Regions from separate parts of the Homo sapiens genome. Here region 1 is linked to region 2. The links are contacts of gene promoters, found by promoter capture Hi-C in blood cells and fetal thymus (Javierre and others, 2016). All regions are on one chromosome and are shown on one strand. Each heading gives the region's core, a stretch centred on a gene start or on the middle of the fragment in contact. The rest is flanking DNA. Distances are from core to core; before and after follow the strand shown. Region 1 overlaps SOS1 (SOS Ras/Rac guanine nucleotide exchange factor 1). Region 2 holds the start of DHX57 (DExH-box helicase 57).

Evidence for each region. The method cuts DNA at HindIII sites, captures the fragments that hold promoters and counts their contacts. A CHiCAGO score of 5 or more calls a contact.
Region 1: a fragment that was not itself captured here is called in contact with the fragment with the promoter of DHX57 in region 2 in 1 of 17 cell types (M2 macrophages); the score reaches 9.2 in M2 macrophages.

What each region holds. Positions count from the first base shown.
Region 1 is chr2:39,007,232-39,011,503 of GRCh38, reverse strand. It overlaps SOS1 (SOS Ras/Rac guanine nucleotide exchange factor 1), which reads left to right. Exons shown (of 23, transcript NM_005633.4): 15 at 801-920. Among named protein-coding and RNA genes, the nearest start is that of SOS1, 110 kb to the left of the region's middle. The HindIII fragment of the contact is 1,260 bases long and covers 1,874-3,133 here.
Region 2 is chr2:38,873,181-38,877,765 of GRCh38, reverse strand. DHX57 (DExH-box helicase 57) reads left to right here and starts at 1,832. Exons shown (of 24, transcript NM_198963.3): 1 at 1,832-1,979. MORN2 (MORN repeat containing 2) reads right to left here and starts at 1,790. Exons shown (of 5, transcript NM_001145450.3): 1 at 1,656-1,790. The coding sequence starts at 1,713. RefSeq lists an enhancer at 1,639-2,623. The HindIII fragment of the contact is 7,829 bases long and covers 1-4,013 here.

The DNA of each region.
Region 1 (4,272 bases), core at 1,254-3,753, 130 kb before region 2:
TGTTAGAATCTATTTTATTTCCTAGGACCCTTTTGTGGTAGGTTTTTTTCCTCTCCTCCTTTAGACCAAAAGAAAAAAAAAAGATGTGTGAATGCATTGATTACTGTACCCTCTTTGAACTGATTATAACAGATATCATTACTTAAATGTCTACTTTGTCACCCTAATTTATTAATAATGTTTATAAGTGCTGGGAAAGATATTATGGAGGAGTCTCAACCTTGCCCAAAGCAAAATGCTACTATAAAGGAACGCTAAAAGTACACAGGTATTTCCATAAAAATAGTTTTTAAAAACAGTTTTTAAAGGCTGGGCATTGTGGCTCACTCCTGTAATCCCAGCATTTTGGGAGGCCAAGGCGGGTGGATCATCCGAGGTCAGGAGTTCGAGACCAGCCTGGCCAACATGGTGAAACCTTGTCTCTACTAAAAACACAAAAAATTAGCCAGGCATGATGACGGGCGCCTGTAATCCCAGCTACCCAAGAGGCTCAGGCAGGAGAATCACTTGAACCTGGGAGGCGGAGGTTGCAGTGAGCCAAGATCATGCCATTGTACTCCAGCCTGCACAACAAGAGTGGAACTCCATCTCAAAAAAAAAAAAAAAAGTTTAAAAAAAATCCATAAGGAAATATGCATAATTACACTTTTTTGTTATACCTTGTTTTCACAGACCTTTCTGTTGGTATAAGAGGAAAGTTCATATGAGAGTTTAGTTTTTATTTGTCTCCTTTACTTAATAAAACAATGTCTATATTAGAGAAAAAAGTGTCATGTAGAATTATGTATTGATGATTTTAGAGCTGTACAGCCATCAGAATTAGTTGGAAGTGTGTGGACAAAAGAAGACAAAGAAATTAACTCTCCTAATCTTCTGAAAATGATTCGACATACCACCAACCTCACTCTGTGGTTTGAGAAGTAAGTATTCCTAGCATTCTTATATTTTATAGCTGTCAGCTATGTTATGAATTTCAATGCAATTTTTTTGTTTGTTTTTTTTGAGACGGAGTTTTGCTCTGTCACATAGGCTGGAGTGCAGTGGCACATCGGCCCACTGAAACCTCCACCTCCCAGGCTCAAGCGATCCTCCCACCTCAGCCTCCAGAGTAACCAGGATTACAAGTGTGTGATATCACACTCACCTAATTTTAATTTTCTTTCTTTCTTTTTCTTTTTTTTTTTTTTTGAGACAGAGTCTGGCTCTGTTGCCCAGGCTGGAGTGCAGTGGTGTGATCTCAGCTCACTGCAACCTCCACCTTCCGGGTTCAAGCAATTCTCAGGCCTCAGCCTCCTGAGTAGCTGCAACTACAGACGCACACCACCACACCCAGCTAATTTTAGTATTTTTAGTAGAGATGGGGTTTCATCACATTGGCCAGGCTGGTCTTGAACTCCTGACCTCAAGTGATCCACCCCTCTTGGCCTCCCAAAGTGCTGGGATTACAGGCGTGAGCCATCGCTCCTGACCAATGCAATTTTATTTCTATATGTCTCATGTCTTTTTCCTCTATTCCTCCTTTCTTTTGCATTGAGTGTTGATGAAAATGATAATATTTGTCATTAGAAAATATTGAATGTTTTTCTAATGTAGCATTAATTTTTTTCATTAACTTTTTTTGAGGTCCTTTTAGTGGTTGCCTGGTTGCCTTACAGTTTACCCTACACATCTTATCAGAATCAGCTTCAGACTTATAGTAGCTTAATACCAGTGACATATGAAATATTACTCCTATGTAGCTCTATTCCCTTTCTCCCTTTTTTTTGTGGTACTGTAATACATATTACATCTTATTAATGATGCAAATCAAACAATACATTGTTAACAGTTATTACTTTACCATTTGTCATCATCCTCTTAGCCCATTAAAGCTTTGCTCTCACCCACCTTCTTTGTGTATTATTGGCAACATATTACAAATATATTACATTTCTATGTCAATAAATTCAACAATGTTTATATTATTTTATACAGTTGTTTAAGTCAGTTATGAGAAGAAATGAGAAAAAAATACGCATTTACAAAATGTCTTTAATAATTACACAATTACCTTTACTGATGGTCTTTGTGTGGATTCGAATTACCATCTGGGATCACTTGCTTTTCAGCCTGAAGAACTTCCTTTAGTATTTCTTCTGGAGGGTGGGCTAGCAACAAATTCTCTCAGTTTTTGTTTATCTGGGAAAATCTTTATTTTACCTTCGTTTTTGAACAATGGCTCTATCTTCAAGTTAATATTTTTTTTTTCAGTTCAAATATACTATTGAGCTTATCCAGTAAGTTTTTTATTTCAGTTATTGTACTTTTTAATTCCAGAATTTCCCTTTGGTTCCTTTTTATAGTTTCTATCTCTTTAATGATATCCTCTCTTCGATGCACATTGTCATCAATACCTTCCTTTCCTTCTTTTTCATGCTTTCCTTTAATTCCGTGACCGTATTCATAATGGCTACTTAGAAATCTTTTTTGTTACTGTTGTTAAATCTGACATTTGGTTGCTCTCACAGGCAGTTTCTGTTCCTTCCACCCCCTCCGCCCCACCCCCACCCCTTGTAAGAGTCATACTTTCCTATTGGTTTGCATACCTCATCTGTTTTTGCTGGAAACCTGACATTTCAGATAATATAGTGTAGCAACTCTGAGTACTGCTCCTCCTTCCCCAGCCCCCTTTCCAGGGCTTCTTATTGCATGGCAGTGGTACTGGAAAGACTCATCCACTCCTTACCTGACCACACACACCCAGCTATGAAACTCCACAATTTGCCAGCTGATTGCTCTGATGTTTTCAACAATTTTCTGGTGGCATAAATGCTATACAAAATAATGCAATCAAATTGTGGCTCCTTTGAAGGAATGGTTTCTGAGATTTCTGTTTGATACTTGTTCTGACCCCAGGAGGGCTCCTCTCAGCCGTCTTATTTCCTAGTTGTCTCCTGCAAACTACTCTGCCTACAGTCTAGGGTGTATCTTCATTAGATCCACAAATCTCTTCCCCATTGCCTTTCACCACAATTTCCACTGTTCCTAAGGGCACCATTAAATTTAAACTACTTTATACTTTGTTGCAAATGACAAGAAATTAGGAGCTATCTGTTTGAAACAGGGCTCTGGGGCTGGGCAACAATGGCAAGCTTTTCTCTGAGTGACACTTCTGCCCTAGGAGCTAAGTGCTTGGTTGAGCAGGTAGAGTGGCAGACGGATGCTACTGCAGCCTGAGGTCTTCTTACCCGCCTCTTCTGGCATGGAACCACGCCCTCAGGAACCAGAGGAAGGGCTCTTTTCTCAGTATGCTCAAAACATCACACCCAAGGTAGCGTCTCCATTCCATAAGTGGAAGTTGGGCAAAAAAGGGTATTCCTACTTCTCAGCTGCACTCAACTGGGACTTGGCCTCAGCAACAGGCAGCAGGGACAGGATGAGAAAACTGAAGTCCTGCTCCTGCACCTCACCGGGAGCTAGGTGTTCTTGACTGCAGGAATCTGGAGTAGATGCTCAGTTCACCCTCACTGAGCTGGGAGAAAGAAGGGAGGGACCAGTCTTGGTTCAAATACCACAGACTCTCTCCCCTCTCTTACCAAATTTTTGTAGATTTTCCTGAATAGATGTTTCTTTTGCCATTTGCTCTCAGGGCCATTACTAGAGACTTTAAATGTGTGTGTGTGCGTGTGCATGTGTGTGTTTGTGTGTATGTGTGTTTTAATAATTTTTACCAGTTTCACTCAGTGAAGCTCCTCATACTATCATACCACAAGTCCAGAATCTCAATGCAATTATATATTAGGTTGGTGCAAAAGTAATTGCAGTTTTTGCCATTACATTTAATGCTGTTCGTAGAAATGTAGGAAACATAGGAACAGAGCTGTTCCTAGAAATGTATGTAGCCAATAATATATGAAAGAAAGAAATTGAGCATTAATCACTAAAATCTTGCAATTAGATGAAGAATAGAACACAACAGAATTCTTGAATTCTACTAGAATACACCCACATCACAAAGACCTCACAAAGACCTCCATACATTCCACAAGATAGTGGCCTCACCAGTTAATTCTGATGCTAATAGAGGATGCACCAAATATAGTAGGAAAATGATTGTTTGACTGTACCAGTCTAGAAGACGGGAAAGAGCAGTATGCCTGACTGGAGGCACTGCCTTCCTTCTATCAGTCACCCTGAATGTGTCTTCTCTATAGTAGTTATACTATCGCCACCCCCCTACTCTCTACATTATTTTATTTACTAAATTCTTTAAGCTATAACTTTATTGGAAAA
Region 2 (4,585 bases), core at 583-3,082:
CTCATGCCTGTAATCCCAACGCTTTGGGTGGGTGAGGTGGGAGGACTGCTTGAGCCCAGGAGTTTGAGACCAGCCTGGGCAACATAGTGAGATTCCATCTACACCAAAATTAAAAACTCAAAAAGAAAAAAAAAGAATCTGTAACTAAAACTCAGGTAATATCAATATGGAAATGGTGTGGAGGATAGAGAGCAATCTTGCTAGAATTCTGATCTCGTTTAGGGGTTAAATATAGACACTAATTAACACTAAATCTTAGAAAAATCTGAATTTAGTTATGTTTGCTTATTTTTTCCCCATAATTTCTAAGATTTGGTTGTGGATAAAGGGTGAAGTATGGTGGTATACAGAAATTGCCATGTGTGCTCATTAATTAGTTATTTACATGTCTGCAAGATGTGAAATTCCAAGAGAGCAGGGACACAGAGCTACTTTCTTTCTTTTTTATTTTTTAATTTAATTTAATTTAATTTAATTTATTTATTTATTTATTTATTTTTGAGACGGAGTCTCGCTCTGTCGCCCAGGCTGGAGTGCAGTGGCTTGATCTCGTCTCACTGCAACCTCCGCCTCCCGGGTTCACGCCATTCTCCTGCCTCAGCCTCCCAAGTAGCTGGAACTACAGGCGTCAGAGCTACTTTCTAAGTGTTTAACTAATGATAACTAACTAGATTACCAGATCTGCTTGTAGTTTCCCACAGATGCCATGCCGTACTCTGGGTGGAACACCCTTCTCTTCTTTACCTGGTTAACTGCTATTCATCCTCAAGAGTTGGCAAAATAGAGTGTAGTAGTTAGGGGTTCATGCTCTGGCATCGGACTACCTACCTTTGCATCCAGACTCCACCATTTTCTCTGACCTTGGACAAATAATTATCTTATGCCTCAGTTTCCTCATCCTTAGATGGGGCAAATCAAGTAAATGAGCTAATCTAGTTAAAGCACTTAGCCCAGTGTCTAAACTCTGTAAATATTAGCTATTGTATTCTTGTAGCCCCAGCTCAGGTATGAGCTCTCCCACAAAGCCTTTCTTCTCATTACTTGTCAACCTCAGACTCCTTCAGGAACCCCCACGGCACTCTGGGCCTATTCCTACTGTAGTACTTAAGGTTCTATTAAAACCATGCTTTTGTATCGGGATCCCCTATCCCACCCAGTTCCTCCAGGACACGGATGGCAGATTAGTCAAATCTCTTCTCACCCCACTGTCCGACTCCGTGTTTAGTACTAATAGTAACAGAACGTCTAGTGAATGAAGGGCACTTCGGAAGGAATCGTTAAGTGCCTATGAAGCAGAGCATTAAACGTAATCATATCAGAAACTGGACTGTTTTCAATTGCCGCTAAAATGTTCTACATTCGAAACTTGGGAACGTCAGAGCTAGAGGGAACCTCACAGAGACCACCCGGCACCATAGCGGAAACTGAGGCCCAGGGAGGTTGGCACGCGCCTCGGGTGTCTCAACAGCGAATTAACAACAGAATCAGAGCTAGATTCCCAGACCAGGGGTTCCCCCGTGCCCCTCGGCTAGACGGTCAGGAAATATATCACACCCCCACAGGAGTTACCGGGAGCCAAGCAGGTTCTGACTCCACGCTAGTTCGACTTAAAGGAGCTCTTCTCTGCCCGGGTCGTTAGGAGGAGGGACACTCACTTGGCCGAGAGGTGTTAGAGAGATCTTCCAAACTCTGCGACTCCCCCTGGGCGGCCAGCTCTGCGGCCGGGAGAGAACTAGGCGCTAGGACAGCTCCAGGTGCGACTTGGTTGCTGGGGCGACCGGGCACCTCTCACCCGGAAGCGAATACGCGAGGGGCTGTAGCTGAGCCAATCAGAAGGCGCCGGGACTGTGCCGCTGCAGCTGGGCCACCGCAGGGCTGCTCCAAGTGAGAATCGTGAGGGTGGCCAAGTCCAGTTTGGACCTCTGACCCTTGGGCAGCACCTCCCGACAGCCGGCTCGGGACCCAACTCTGCGAGCCAGGTACGTCTTCCACTTCTGCGGACAAGTGATGCGCGTTGTGCGCACGGTGTGCGCGTCACCCTGTTTGTCAGTGTGTCTGCCGCCTCCTGCTCCAGGAGTGGTCGGGATCTGACGAGCATCGCGGCCCAGTGTGTTTCATCCAGTCTGCCTGGGGCCGGTGAATCTGGACCAGCAGGATCCCAGGCCCTGATACCGAACCAAGGCGGGCTCTGCCGCTGAGGTTGTCCACGCTCAAACTGCAGGTTGGGGCCGGGGGGGGCGGGGCGTGAAATTCAGTCTTGGAGCAGGCTAAGGGGTTGATTGAAGGGATCAGGCTCCGTTCTCTGACTCCGTCTGTGTGGCTTTTTTGGGGAGAAGGGTGGGGACGATGTGAGTTCGAAAAAGGATACGAGATCTGGATATCTGGATGGAGCTGGATATATTGTGATCAGTCAGAGATCTGCCTGGGAGGAGAGTAGTGTGTAGTCACTTTTCAGTGCCTTGGCTATCAAACAAAGAATACTCTTACAGCCAAACTTAGGTCCCTGTATCCATGGTGAAGAAAGATAGTTGGAGTCTTCCCGGGCTAGATGGAATAGATAGTGGAATCTAACCACGTGGATTATACAACCTAATTCCTATTCCCTTGAAAACTCTGGGAGAGTGGTATTGGACACCATTACAGTCAGTAAATCTTCGTTTAAAATGTTAAGCGCATATCTCAGATCTAGTTGTAAAAGTAACATTTTCTGGGTTGGTGTGAGACAACTTGTTTTGATTCAGCGTAAGTATCCTCTTGCTTTTTCCTAATGTTTCTCAGTACACAAATTTACCTGGGCTGCATGGTTTTTGAGATGAAGTTCTAATCTAACTGATTTGTTATTTCATTTCCCTAAATTTTAGAAATAATAGGTAATTATTGGTGCACAACCTTACAGAATTCAGTTTGACCTGTTATTTTTCTTGCCTGTTAAGATTTTAATGACTCTACATTTTTGTGAGTAAAGTTGACGTTTGAACAACATGGGTATGAACTACCCGGCTCCACTTACAGGTGGATTTTTCCCAACCCAACACAGATTGAAAATACAGTATTTCAGGTCGGGCGCGGTGGCTCACGCCTGTAATCCCAGCACTGTGGGAGGCCGAGGCGGGCGGATCACGAGGTCAGGAGATCGAGACCATCCTGGCTAACACGGTGAAACCCTGTCTCTACTAAAAATACAAAAAATTAGCCGGGCATGGTGGCGGGTGCCTGTAGTCCCAGCTACTCAGGAGGCTGAGGCAGGAGAATGGCGTGAACCCGGGAGGTGGAGGTTGCAGTGAGCTGAGACTGCGCCAGTGCACTCCAGCCTGGGCGACAGAGTGAGACTCTGTCTCAAAAAAAAAAAAAAAAAAAAAAAAAATACAGTATTTCAACTAGGCACAGTGGCTCATGCCGGTAATCTCAGCACTTTGGGAGGCCAAGGTGAGACGATTGCTTGAGCTCAGGAGTACGAGACCAGCTTGGGCAGCAAAGCGAAACCTCATTTCTACTAAAAAATGTTTAAAGTAGCTGGGTGTGGTGGTGCACCTGTGGTCCCAGCTATTCAGGAGGCTGAGGCAGGAGGATTGCTTGAGCCTAGGAGATCGAGGCTGCAGTAAGCTATGATCGTACCACTGCACTGCAGCCTGGGTGATAGAGCAAGATCCAGTCTCAAAAAAAAAGAAAGAAAGAAAAAAGAAAAGACAGTATTCCTGGAATGCAAAACCCACATACAGAGGGCCAACTTTTCCTCTATGCAGGTTCTACAGGGCTGACTGGAGAACTTGAGTATCCGTGGATTTTGGTATACATGGGGGTTCTGGAACCAATCCCCTGTGTATACCGAGGGATGACTATTTCATGGCTCATTCTGTCAATTTCTTCCGGATGTCCTTTAAAATCTCAAAGAGGCCTTACCCAACCACTCTATCTAAAATAACTGCCTCGGGGGTTTTTTTTCCTTGATAGCACTTAAGTTATAATATATATCTATTTGTTTAATGTCTGTGTTACCCTCTAGAAGGTAAGCTTCATGAAGCAGAAATTTTGTCTTTTTTGCTGTTATATCCCCAGGATCTGGCACATAATAAGTGCTCAATAAATATTTGTGGAATGAATAAATAGATGAACAAATCTCCATTCCCACATAAGTCATTTTTTCAACCTTCAATCATTCATTCCACAAATAGATACTGAATTCCTACCATATGCTAGACACTGTGTTAAGGGTACAGTGGTAATCAAAATAGACATAGTCTTGTTTTCAAAGAGCTTTCTGGGAGTAGAAAGGAGAGACAAACTTAAGATAAACTCTGAATACATATGTATAATCATCAGCAATTTTGAAGAAAGGAATACCTAGGAAGACCTAGTTTAATATACACATATTTGTGAGTTTCCCAAATTTTTTCTAGCTTTTGATTTCTAATTCCATTTTGGTTGGAGAACATAGTTCATATTATTTCTTTCTTTTTACATTTATTGAGGTTTATGGCTGGGCACAGTGGCTCACGCCTGTAATCCCTGCACTTTGGGAGGCCAAGGTGGACAGATCACCTGAGGTCAGGAATTCGAGACCAGCCTGACCAACATGGTGAAACAC